Linked DNA regions of Homo sapiens: region 2 is linked to region 1. Evidence: promoter capture Hi-C in human tissues and cell types (Jung and others, 2019). All regions are on one chromosome and are shown on one strand. The core of a region is centred on a gene start or on the middle of the fragment in contact, and the rest is flanking DNA. Distances in the headings are between cores, read along the strand shown.

The links. The method cuts DNA at HindIII sites, captures the fragments that hold promoters and counts their contacts. A contact is called where the count stands out against the background at its distance.
Region 2: a fragment that was not itself captured here is called in contact with the fragment with the promoter of NIPAL4 in region 1 in 1 of the 25 tissues and cell types used here (H1 embryonic stem cells).

Annotation. Positions count from the first base shown.
Region 1 is chr5:157,455,839-157,461,884 of GRCh38, forward strand. It overlaps NIPAL4 (NIPA like domain containing 4), which reads left to right and starts at 4,375. Exons shown (of 6, transcript NM_001099287.2): 1 at 4,375-4,519. The coding sequence starts at 4,483. It overlaps NIPAL4-DT (NIPAL4 divergent transcript), which reads right to left and starts at 4,262. Exons shown (of 3, transcript NR_136205.1): 1 at 4,170-4,262. RefSeq lists a silencer at 4,269-4,428. The HindIII fragment of the contact is 8,008 bases long and covers 1-6,037 here.
Region 2 is chr5:156,173,547-156,179,296 of GRCh38, forward strand. It overlaps a transcript of SGCD not described here. Among named protein-coding and RNA genes, the nearest start is that of SGCD, 150 kb to the right of the region's middle. The HindIII fragment of the contact is 4,498 bases long and covers 1,863-5,750 here.

The sequences.
Region 1 (6,046 bases), core at 3,125-5,624:
CATTTTAACATGTAATCAATATTTAAAAATCATTAATGAGATTTTCCTTTTTTTTCCTTACTAAGTTTTTGAAATCTGAGTGGTTCTCAACCCAGAGTGATTTTGGCAATTGTCTGGGGGTGTTTTTGATTGTCAAAACTGGGGTGGGTGTCGGGGTGCAGGGGTGTGTGTGCCGCTGGCATCCAGAGGGTAGAGGCCAGGGGTGCTGCTAAACATTCTACGAGCACAGGACAGCCTCCAGCAACAAAGAACGATCTAGTCCAAAATGCTAACTGAGCCTGTTTTCTACTTATAGCACATCACGATTCAGATTAGCGGCTCATCAAGTTCTCAAAAGCCACATGCAGCTGGTAGCTGCCATATTGGACGGCACAGCTCTGTAACCTAAAACATCTGGACATGCACTTGGAAAAGTCAAGTTTTTAAAAACTTGGGTTTTGGTGAATTTGTTTTCCTACTCATCCCAGAATAACTGACCGAAAGAGCTGCGGCTGGGTCACCAGTCGCTGGCTGGCTAAGGGCAGAACCCATCTGTCCCTGGCTTGTTAGACCCTTCGTAAGCCACCCACCCTCCTCAGGGAGACTGAGCCTGGAACAGACAGTGAACCCTGTTGTTCTTTTCTGGGGAGACAAAGCTGCAGGCCCTGCTACCTGCCTGACAGGGCCATTGTGGCTAGAGGAGAAAAGGGCTTTGTCAGGAAGCAGCCGAGAAGACTGCAGTTCAATGGGGCCCTTTATGTCTACACTGGCAAGATGCTCTGATGCCAGCCCTGTTGAGGCCCAGCCCCCTTTTAGAACAGATGGGGAGCCTGAGGCCCAGTGAGGTTGTGAAAGTCCCTGCAGTGGATCCTAGCCTCCTTCCCCTCATGCCACTGCCCTAAAACATGAGATTCTCCTGACTCTGAAAAGGCCGGTCTTGAAGCATAGGATAAACTCAATATTGCCCTTAACCCCTGACAAGGAGGCCCCTTCCCTGACCCTAAAATTTAGAGGTTCCACAAATCACAAACACATACAAAAATAAATGCATTAAAGAACATATATGTGCATCTGTCTCTCAGGATCTGGGCTTAGCTCTGGCAACTACAATCTGAAACATCCTCTCTTGTGATTCAAAAAGGCCACTAAGAGAAGCCACTATTTAAAGTGTTCTCAACATACACGCATGTATGCACACACACGCACAATATAACTAAGTGAGGTGATAGATGTATTAATTAGCTTAATCGTCGTTATCATTCACGATGTACACCTATATCAAATCATTATGTTGTACATTTTAAATATATATAACTTTCATTTGTCAGTCATACTTCAATAAAGCGAGGAAGAAAAAAGGTCAGACCAGAGGGAAATACTCCGAATCTCTCACCCTATGTTCTTGGAATAAAAGCAGTCAAGTTTGAATGCAGTGAGGGTTTGAGGACTGTACCACTCCAGGTTCAGTGCTGACTCCGTTTTATAGCACAAGGAGGAGCTGAACAGCAGAAATGCTTAGAGAAGAGAAAGATAAGTTGAATTCTCTTGTCAAATTCTCCCTTGCAGGTAGCATGGATGCATATATTTTTTCATCATGAAGTCTCACTTCCGAATAGGGCCAATCATCTAGTGTCTTGCTGCTCTGTGTTCAAATTCATATAGTCTTGGAGGTGTTCCCCTCTACCTGAACGGTGGTACCACACACCTCCAAAGTTAGAGGCGGGCCTGGGCACACTCACCTGCAGACTTGGATATATTCTGTTGGCAATGGCTATGACTTCTGTCAACTAAAAGAAAATCAAGCTTTTAAGGAATTAAAGTTAGTTTTATTCAGAAGTCTTACTGAGGTTCTGTAATCCCAGCATTTTGGGAGGCCGGGGCAGGTGGAACACCTGAAGTCAGGAGTTTGAGATCAGCCTGGCTAACATGGTGAAACACTGTCTCTACTAAAAATACAAAAATTAGCTGGGCGTGGTGGTGGGCGCCTGTAATCCCAGCTACTCCGGAAGCTGAGGTGGGAGAATCGCTTGAACATGGGAGGCGGAGCTTGCAGTGAGCCGAGGTCGAGCCACTGCACTCCAGCCTGGGCAACAGAGTGAGACTCTGTCTCAAAAAAAAAAAAAAAAAAAAAAGCAGAAGTCTTACTGAGGACTAGAGACTGAAGACAAAGTCTGGGAGGAGTCTTTCAGAGAGGTCCTGTCCCACTGCTCTGAAACAGTGTTTTAGCTCATAGCTGATATACACGTAGCAGAAGTGCAGTATGTGCTCAAACATTACATCAAACTTGCTCAGAAGTTACAGTAAAGCAGAATCACATGAAAGTCTGGGTGCAAGAGTATATCTGGTTATAGATGATAGAGGCATAGTCACTAACCTTGTCAAACATTATCCTATGTGTAGGAATAGGCAAGGTCTAGGGTCATTTATCTTTTAAGAAATATAGTGTCTCAGGCAAAAGTTGTGGGGGCCTTGTGCTGTATCCTGCTTTGTTTTCAAAGCATTTTTCCAGAGAGGTGCACATCATTACAGAATCAAGGGCTTGTGAAATTATGCAGCAAGTAAAATGAGCAAACGTGGCTTGTTACATTTGCTGTGTCTCACATTTCCCTTTCTCTTTTAACCTCTCCCTTCCCCAACCCGATCCCGACCCCTTGGAGAAGGGGCTGTTGCATTTGACAAAGAAATTGATCCTTATGTAGAGTAAGCAACTTGTTTAAAGTCATCCAGCAAATTAGAGGAAGCCCCATGCTGGGAGAACCCATCCTTAGAGGCCCAGCTAGAGGTCCGCAAGTAGACAGTGGAGGGTCGTAGGTAGGAGGACAGGCTTGGGGTCAGAGCAGCTCGGTTTACACCTGGCACCCTCGTTCACTAGCTGTGCAACCTTGGGAGCAAGTGTCTCAGAGTATTTAAAGGACAGTTTTTTCTATTCCTATACAAGATGTTAACATTAAGGGAAGCTGGTGACAGGTATATGGGAACTCTCTATACTATTTTCGTAACTCTTCTATAAGTCTAAAATTATCTCATGATAAAATTTTTAAAAATAACAGTTTCCTCTTATCTGTAGCATGGAAAGAGTAAGGATATCTGTCTCCTAGGAGGCTTCGATGAGACAGTGCCTGGAAAGGGGTTAGCACAGTGTCTGGCCCATGCTGACGACTCCATACATAACAATTCTTAAAAGCTGCCTCCTCCAGGAAGCCGGTGAGCACCACTGGCAGAACCAATCACTGCTTTCTCAGTAGCCCCACACCCTCACTGCCCAGGAGCAGTTTATTTCAGTGTAAAATGCCAGGCGGCTTAATGTGACCACTGACAGCACGAGTTTGATCCTGGCTTTTCTGCTTCTCAGCTGAGATCCCCAGCAAGTTACTTGAGCACTTTGTGCCTCAGTTTCCTTTTGGTAAATAATAAAAGTCTGTACATTATAAGGCGGTCATGAAGATTAAATGAACTGGAATTTTTCAGCACTTAGAACTCTGCCTGGCCTATAGCAAACTCTACATACCTATTTTTATGCTCCAGGTCAGTGGTTTTCTAACTTGCTTTTTACTGTTACCCATAGTAACAAATATGCTTTCCATCACAACGTGTGTATGTGTGTGTGTGTATAAATAATTTTAAAGTGGTAATTTCAAAAACATTGGTCTCTAAGAGATGATCACATTTTGTTTCCCCCATTAAAATATAAGGTACTTGGGGGACAGGGAATAGTCTGACTCATTTTGGTCTCCAATCACTTCATTTCCTTCTTTCATTTAATTTACCAAGCTCCTATTATCTATTCATTAGACATAAATATATATTGAGCATTAACTCACTATGTACCTGTTACCTACCAGCACAGATCAGACCTGGGTTGAATCAATGAACGGGTAAGGCAAGGAAAGGAGGTCGCAGGGCAGAAGGCAGGGAGGAAGGGCAGGAGGGTGAAATGGAAGGAAGGGAGGAAAGGTGGAGGGGAGGAAGGAGAGGGGGAGGGTAGGAGGGCGAGAAGGAAGGAAAAGAAGGAACCCAGGTTCCCAATTGGCAGCAGTACCCACTTCCAACCCCTATGTTGCCACTTCCACCTCGGCAGGAAAGTTGCCCCTTCTCCAGCCATCTAGGTCCCCTGTACTCTTTCCCTGGGGATGGAGCTGGGTGCCGGTGCAGGCATCGGAGGAGCGGTGCCGGGGAACCCGCCTCCTCACCTCTTGCCCCTAGCACGGGGCGGTGACTCCAGAGCTGGGAGCCTGGCAGCGTCCTCACCCCAGGAAGGCATGCGCCCCTCTGCGGGCGGCCCCAGCCCTGGGCCCCCTGCCCCCGGAATTGCCCAAGATGCCGGGTGACTCCTCCCCGGGGACTCTCCCACTCTGGGACGCGTCACTCTCCCCACCCCTGGGTCCGGACCCCGGCGGCTTCTCGCGCGCGAGCCACGCGGGGGACAAGTCGCGGCCACCTGCTCCGGAGCTGGGGAGCCCGGGCGCCGTCCGCCCGCGCGTCGGTTCGTGTGCCCCGGGCCCCATGGAGCTGCGGGTCAGCAACACCAGCTGCGAGAACGGTGCGTACGGCAGGGCTGGGGACCAGGCGGGCTCCGCGCTTCGCGCCCTCCCCTCCTTGCCACCGCTCTCCCTCGCATCCTCTCCTCCCAGGGGGGCCAAAGCTGGGGAGGGGCAGGGCCAGCACGAGGTGGCTCCCACCCAGCTTTGAAGATCTGGGTTCTGGCTGAGACTTCACTTTCATCTTCGCAGCTGGGATGGCTGAGAGGAGTCAGGGAAGGAAAGTATGTCCCCTGGGTTGAGATGGGGGGTTAGTGGGGGGCAGGCATTTTGACGACAGCAGACACCCTGAGAGGTGGTGGGGGCGGGGGGAGGATTCTGTGTTTTTAATGTGTAGTTGCTTCAGGTTTTAGTACCTGCGCAGTTTGGGCTTTCTCTCTGGGTCAATGGGAGGACCATCACAGGACGGTCTTGTCTTTGGAAAAGAAAAAGAACCACAGGAAGGGGTAAAGAAAGACCCCTGACTTCCTATTGCGTTCTGACCATAAAGCAGGTAGTGGACTAGGCCCTTTACCCGCATTATCTCACTGAATCCTTAAAACAACTCTAGAAGGTAGGTAGGTATTATTATTTTACTATCTTGCTATCCCCACTCTAAAGATCCAGAAACTGAGGCTCTGAGCAGCTAATAATTTGCTCAAGGTAATACAGTGAGGAAATGGAATATAGATCCAAGGCTGGTGGACAGTAAAACCTCAACTCCTTCCTTGGTGTGGCTCCACTTTCCTACCTTGTCTTGGAACTGCAGGCTGTGGCATGTCCCTGTTTCTCTAACCTCTTCCCTTCTACAGTGAAGCTTTCAAAGCCAGCCTGTTAGGTGTCTGACTTTGGTTTCCTGAACAAGGCAGGCATTTTCAGCCTCACCTTTTCTCTAGGCCAGAATGTGTTCCCCAGTCCTAGCATATTCTGGAAGAGATAACAGGAATCATCTGGCCCATGCTCAGAATTGGATTACTTTGGCCATCAGCCCTCTGTCTTTTACTTTTCACTGCAGTGGGAGAACTTGACTCAATGGAGGATGCTCAGCCCTTGGGTGTTGCGGGCTTTACTGTGACAGCCAAGTCCATCCACAGAGGGTTCGTTGGCTCCATCTGCTAGAGGTGCACCTTCAGGGAGCAGGGGAAGGGCGTGGGGATGAGTTTGGTCTTCCTCTCAGGAGTCACCTCCCCTAGCCCATGTTCTCCCAGGTTCTGGCTCATTTCCTGGGCTCAGGGAACTCCCCAGATTCAGCTCTTGGGCAAGGAAGCCTGAGCTGGAGAAACAGGAATGAGCAGTGCAGAACAAGTCTGATTAGGGACTGAGATGCCTCTTGTCTCATCTTCCCTTGATTGTGACACGAGTTTTGGAAAGAGAGATATCACACTGCAAAAGACACATGGATGTGCCCCAGTGGGTGCTGGATCCAGATCTTTCACCAGATGTTGGGGTGACTTAAGCAAGCTCTTCCCTTTCTCAGGGCCTCAGTTTCCCCAGAAAAAATAAGAATTTAGACTGCTTTCTAAGGGCTCTTCAAGCTCTGTTATTCATGG
Region 2 (5,750 bases), core at 2,862-5,361, 1.3 Mb before region 1:
GAGAATAAACACAGTTAAGTACATAGCATTTGCATTTGTTTCAATACATAAGTTATCATTTTTACATCACTATTTTTATTTATAGAGACATTTTTTATTTCCCCCATTCCAGTGCCCTTTTAAATAATTTTGATGCAGAAAAACCTTAGGGAGATCTTAAAATTCCCCAAACAATGTTAAATATCTAAATATGTTTTCTTTTCTTTAGAATAATGAAGTAATAACTTCTTGTTATACTTACCTTGACCTTTCATGCTTATCCTTTTGATAGTAAATTAAAAAAAAAACACTGTATCTATAGTTTTTTTGATGATGGTCCAATCATATGGAAAATTAAGTTTTTTATATTGCACCTGCAATTACTAATTATGTGACTTATAAAGTCAGGAAACCTGTGTGAGTCCCAGTTTTCATACACATACAATGAGCATAATTATTCCTGTTGAATTTACATCAGTGGCTTCATAGATTTAAAAACTCATTGTAAAGTATACAGATCTATATTCTGGGCAGTTAGGGAGTTCAGTCTTTTACTATTTATTAAGTGTTTACTATGTGCTGGCTGCCGCATTCATGGTATAGCAGTGAACAGGCAGAAAATGAATCTGAGGGGTGGAACTCTAACTATGGAAGACAACCAAGGAAAAATAAAATAAGGTACTTGCAGATGAAGATAAGAACTATAAAATAAATTGAAGTCGGTAGAGGGGAGAGGCTTACTTTAGATAACAGGTTGCAGGAAGCCTCCCTGAGAATGTGCCTGTTAAGAGCCAGTGGTAAAGGAATCTAAGGAAATGGCTTTCCAGTGGAGGAACCAGCCAAGTGTGTATAAAAAGAAACAAACAGTAGGTCATGTGGCTGGAGCATGGTGAACTGTGGGGAACAGGGCCATGAGAGAGAGTAAGAGAGATTGGAAGGGGCCAGATCAAGCAGGGCCACCTGTGCTGCGCTGTTTCAGATTCCTAGATGAGCTTTGTGATGATCTGTGTTAAGGATTGCAGTTATTTCATCCAGGTTCCCAAGAGCAAAGTACAGAGATGAGACAGTTGGTGCTCCTGGTTTGTTCAAGAATTATTTTCTATTAATGCTTTCTTTCACAACAGCCACAATATAGGGTTATGGTACATAAAGTGAGGGCAATGAGAATGGGAGGAGCAAGATCTCCACAGTGTTCTGAAGGACCCACCAAGGGGACTTCATAGTTGTCTATGTGAGTGATAGGAAAAAGATGTCAAATAAGACTTCATGGTTTCTTATCTGAAGTTCCAGAAAAAACATTGATAATGGTTGAGGCTATAAGAACAGAATAGCTCTAAGGGAGAGAGAACGTAAGTTATACATTCTTACAGAGATGATAAGTTATAACTGAAAATGGAATCTTAGATAATGTCCACTGTCAGTGGTTTGGGAATAGGATTTTAAAAAAAAGATCAAAATGTAAGCAAGAACAGTAAACTTACTAGGAGAGATAAATGAGTCTAGGGAAAGAGTAAGATTTAGTTATGAGGAGATATATTACATGAAGCAATAGTATAAAGTCAACTGAAGAGAGATTCTTGAATTCCAGTAACACCAACTTAATTGGTAACATAGAATTGATTTAATAGGTGAATAGAGAAAAGAGACTGTAAAAATAACCAAGAATATTTATGGTATTTAGGATGAATTGCTAAGTATTAATTAGTCATATAATTTTGAATTTTCCTAATACATAAGTACTTGTTCAAGGGTTAACTATGCCTGTCAGTTACTTTTGAATGTAGAAAAAAAGTAGTAAAATAAATAGTAAAATATGAATTGATGAAATAGTGGAAAAAATTTACAAATTTGCCTGGCTCTTATTTTGTGAGCGCACTCTACTTAGAAAAAAAAAATATTCGTGTACCTTAACATTTACCAAATCACCAACTACACCATATTTTACCTCTTAGTCTCATCTCTGTTCTACACTCAGAGCCAATTTTTATCAATCCCATTCTTTACTTAGCCTCTTGCAAAGAATATTATGCAAAGTATAATAATTAACCTAGGAAAATGTTTTCTAAGATATTGTTACTCAGTGGAAAATAAAATACAATAAGGAGTTTCCAGTTTTAATTTATCTTTTGAAAAATAGGGAGTCAGTAACTACTTGTGCATAAAAGAAAAATGGAAATATACTCCAAATAAATTCACTTGGAAGTCATGGGCTTTTAGAAAGACATGCTGTTATTTTGACTTCTGATGAAGGTCAATTAATATAATTGTGATGGTCCTAATCAATAATAACAAAAGTAAATGTGATTATATTTTAAGAATACAAAATTACGGTACCCTAAATTAAGGAGTAAAGATTTATGATCACCTCAGGTGGACACATTCTTACCTAAATAAGCATACATGCGGCTATTTTTCTGTGGATCTTTTTTTTTTTATTTTTGGAGTAAGTGAAAGAAGTTACTTGGCTGGTATAGAATAAGTAGAATTATTGCTCCATGCCAGATTAATGGCATTCAGAAAGTTGCTTGCGATTTTCAAAGTTTCTCTTGGTTTTAAGTTAGTGTAGTGCAGTATGGAACTCAGCTAATATACTTTGTGTGTGTGTGTGTGTTTGTGTGTGTGTGTGTTTGTGTGCGTGTGGTGATCATGGCCACAGTACTTGCTAGGAGCATGACTGAATCTACTGAATAGTAGTGCGTTCTCCTATTTTATCAACCCCAGCCAGACAAAACTGTCTAGTTTTTATATTTTAATATGCCAGAGTCAATTCTAAGGGCAAGGTGCCTCAAGTTATTGGCTTATAGGCTTCGTTCAAATAGCAACGTACTATAGATATGAAGAATGGGAAAAAATAGGTTAGGAATATCTCTAAGGAAAACCTTATGCCATTTTTTGATATGCTAGGAGATTAAAAATGTTGAAAAGACAAAAAAAGTATTTCTTTCTCTCCCATAGGAAGCTCTGTTCCATTTTTGAAATCCTAATTTCTATCTAGTTTCAGTATCTTAGGTGTTTGTGATTTTTTTTTAAAGAAAATGGTGTGTGCTGCTTTGTTTACTTTCAGAAGGTGGTGAAGAGCTCATATGTTTATCATTCAATGTAAAATAATAATTATTCTGACTGACTTCACAGAACTTTAGAAGTCTGAGTGCTTTTTAAAATCCTCTGTTGCAGGCTCTAAAAGACTCTAACAATATGTTTTATAATTACAGCTGAAAAATTGTTGGTAAATTGCGATTTTGTTTTTTGTAGTTTAAATATCTCTGAAAAATATTCTTTCTCTTCCAATGTCTACTCCATTTTTTCTTTATCTGCCTTCAGTTTTGGAAAATTACAAAGTGACAAATTGTCAGGGATGAGGATTTTTAAAAGACATAGGGACCCCTAGTTTTTCTCTAAACAAGAATACATACTTCAAACAGATAATTTGAATGCCAGCTCTAAAACAAACAAAAACAAATTAAGGTAATTTTTTATTTTTTATTTATTTTTTTGAAGCAGAGTCTTGCTCTGTTGCCCAGGCTGGAGTGAGGTGACGTGATCTCGGCTCACTGCAACCTCCGCCTCCTGGGTTCCAGCGATTCTTCTGCCTCAGCATCCTGAGTAGCTGGGACTACAGGTACACGCCACCATGCCCAGCTAATTTTTGTATTTTTAGTAGAGACGGGGTTTTACCATGTTGGCCAGGATGATCTCGATCTCTTGACCTCGTGATCCACTCACCTCGGCCACCCAATGTGCTGGGATTACAGGTGTGAGCCACCGTGCCTGGCCCAATTTTGTATTTTTAAAAAATTTTTCTGGTGAGCCTTGTGTGCTGGGATCAAGGTAAATCTTTTCTAAATGGTAGAGATATTAATATTTAAAATGGAAAATACCTTGATGGTCTGAAAAGTGGCTTTTGGGTTTATCTTATTGAGCTAGAGAAATTGCAAATGTAAGCCTTGGAAAACATGGGCACAGCAACTCAAGTTGTTACTTGATTATACAGTTCTCCTGAGGGTCCTGTGCATCTCGGGAGCTGTTTGTTTGTTTGTTTAATGAGCTATATTAAGGGATAATTTATATACAATGTACTGCATCTATTTAAAGTGTACAATTCTATTAGTTTTGACAAACATATCCCCACATGAAATTACCATTGAGATACAGAAAATTTTCATCACCCCCCAAAAGAGTCCTTAAGTCTTTTTGCAGTCCATTCCCTCCTTTCTAAACAGTCTCCCAGTCCTACAAAACCAGGGATCTAATTTTTGTTGCTGTAGACTTGTTAGGTAGGGTAGTCTTAAAAATACCCAATATTTGTTTAATGGGCGGCATTGACCAATTTGACAAGATACAGAGAAAATGAATTTTTTTAAATCACTTGGCAGCATTAAGGATGAGGACTTAATCCATGGGATTTCATCCAATGTATATTGAAAATATAAGAAGTCAAGATGGATTTAATACAGTTAACCTACTGAACATAATAGTTAAGCCTAATCTATATCTTAAGTGTGATCAGAGCACTGATGTTAGCCTACAGTTTGGCAGAATGATCTAACAGAAAGCCTATTTTATAATAAAATGTTGAATATCTCATGTAATTTATTGAATAACATACTGTGAAAAACTGTGATTGTGTGGGTATTCAAAGTACTGTTTCTACTGAATGCATGTGGCTTTCTCACCACCCCAAAGTGAAAAAAAAAATCATAAGTTGAATCATTATAAGTTGGGCACTGTCTGTCTACCCTTTGTGTAACTGAATCGTAACTAAAGAGAATGCTGTTTTGATAATGCTTCGAGTGCGTCAGCGTGGAGAGAGATTTCTAAGAAAACAGCTTGACCTGTTCTGTTATAATGTCAGTTAATCATGCATGCCAAATGCTTGAAGTTCTTTGTGCTTTCAGAGCAGGACTATACGAATATAAGAATGCTCACAACAAATCTCTTTTACAAATTAGAGTTATGAGTCTTTATACATATGCATCTCAGGTTAATTTTATTTTATTTGTTCTACATATTACACATGCTTTCAATATAATTTTATCTTATAGACAAATGATAAATCTTACCCATTGGGCCTTAGTTTTCCCCTTCTATAGAACGATGGCATTCTGATGGAAGCAGAGATTGCTCACTGCAACCTCTGCCTTCTGGGTTCAAGCAATTCTCCTGCCTCAGCCTCCCAAGTAGCTGGGATTGCAGGCATGGGCTACCATGCCTGGCTAATTTTTGTATTTTTAGTAGAGACAAGGTTGGCCAGGCTGGTCTCAAACTCCTGATCTCAGGTGATCCACCTGCCTCAGCCTCAGAAAGTGCTGGGATTACAGGTGTGAGCCACCGCGCCCAGCCTGAATGTATTAATGATTGCCAATATATGTTGTTTGAGATTTTAGCAGTGCCTACAACTTTACACTAATAGTTTCCTAATAGGTCCAACGCATAGTCACTGTTTTCACTAACAAATACTCTAATCAAGATCAAAGGTAGGTTTTAGGCTAATAAATGACAATCTCAGAATCAAAATAGGAAAAATGACTGTTGACATGTGACTGACAATATTGTTTTCTGCTTTCATCATTGCTTCCTTATGGTGCTATTTTTAACATACACATCTAAGCATGTGTTTTATAGACATTTGGGGAAGTAAGTAAATGTTTACTATTAACATTTTCTATGTACTTTTGCACTATATACATATAGTTTTTTTCTTAACAAAAATGATTTTCTATCTGTGCTGCTTGGTTTTTAAAAAATCTTATATCCTGATATCATATTTAAAA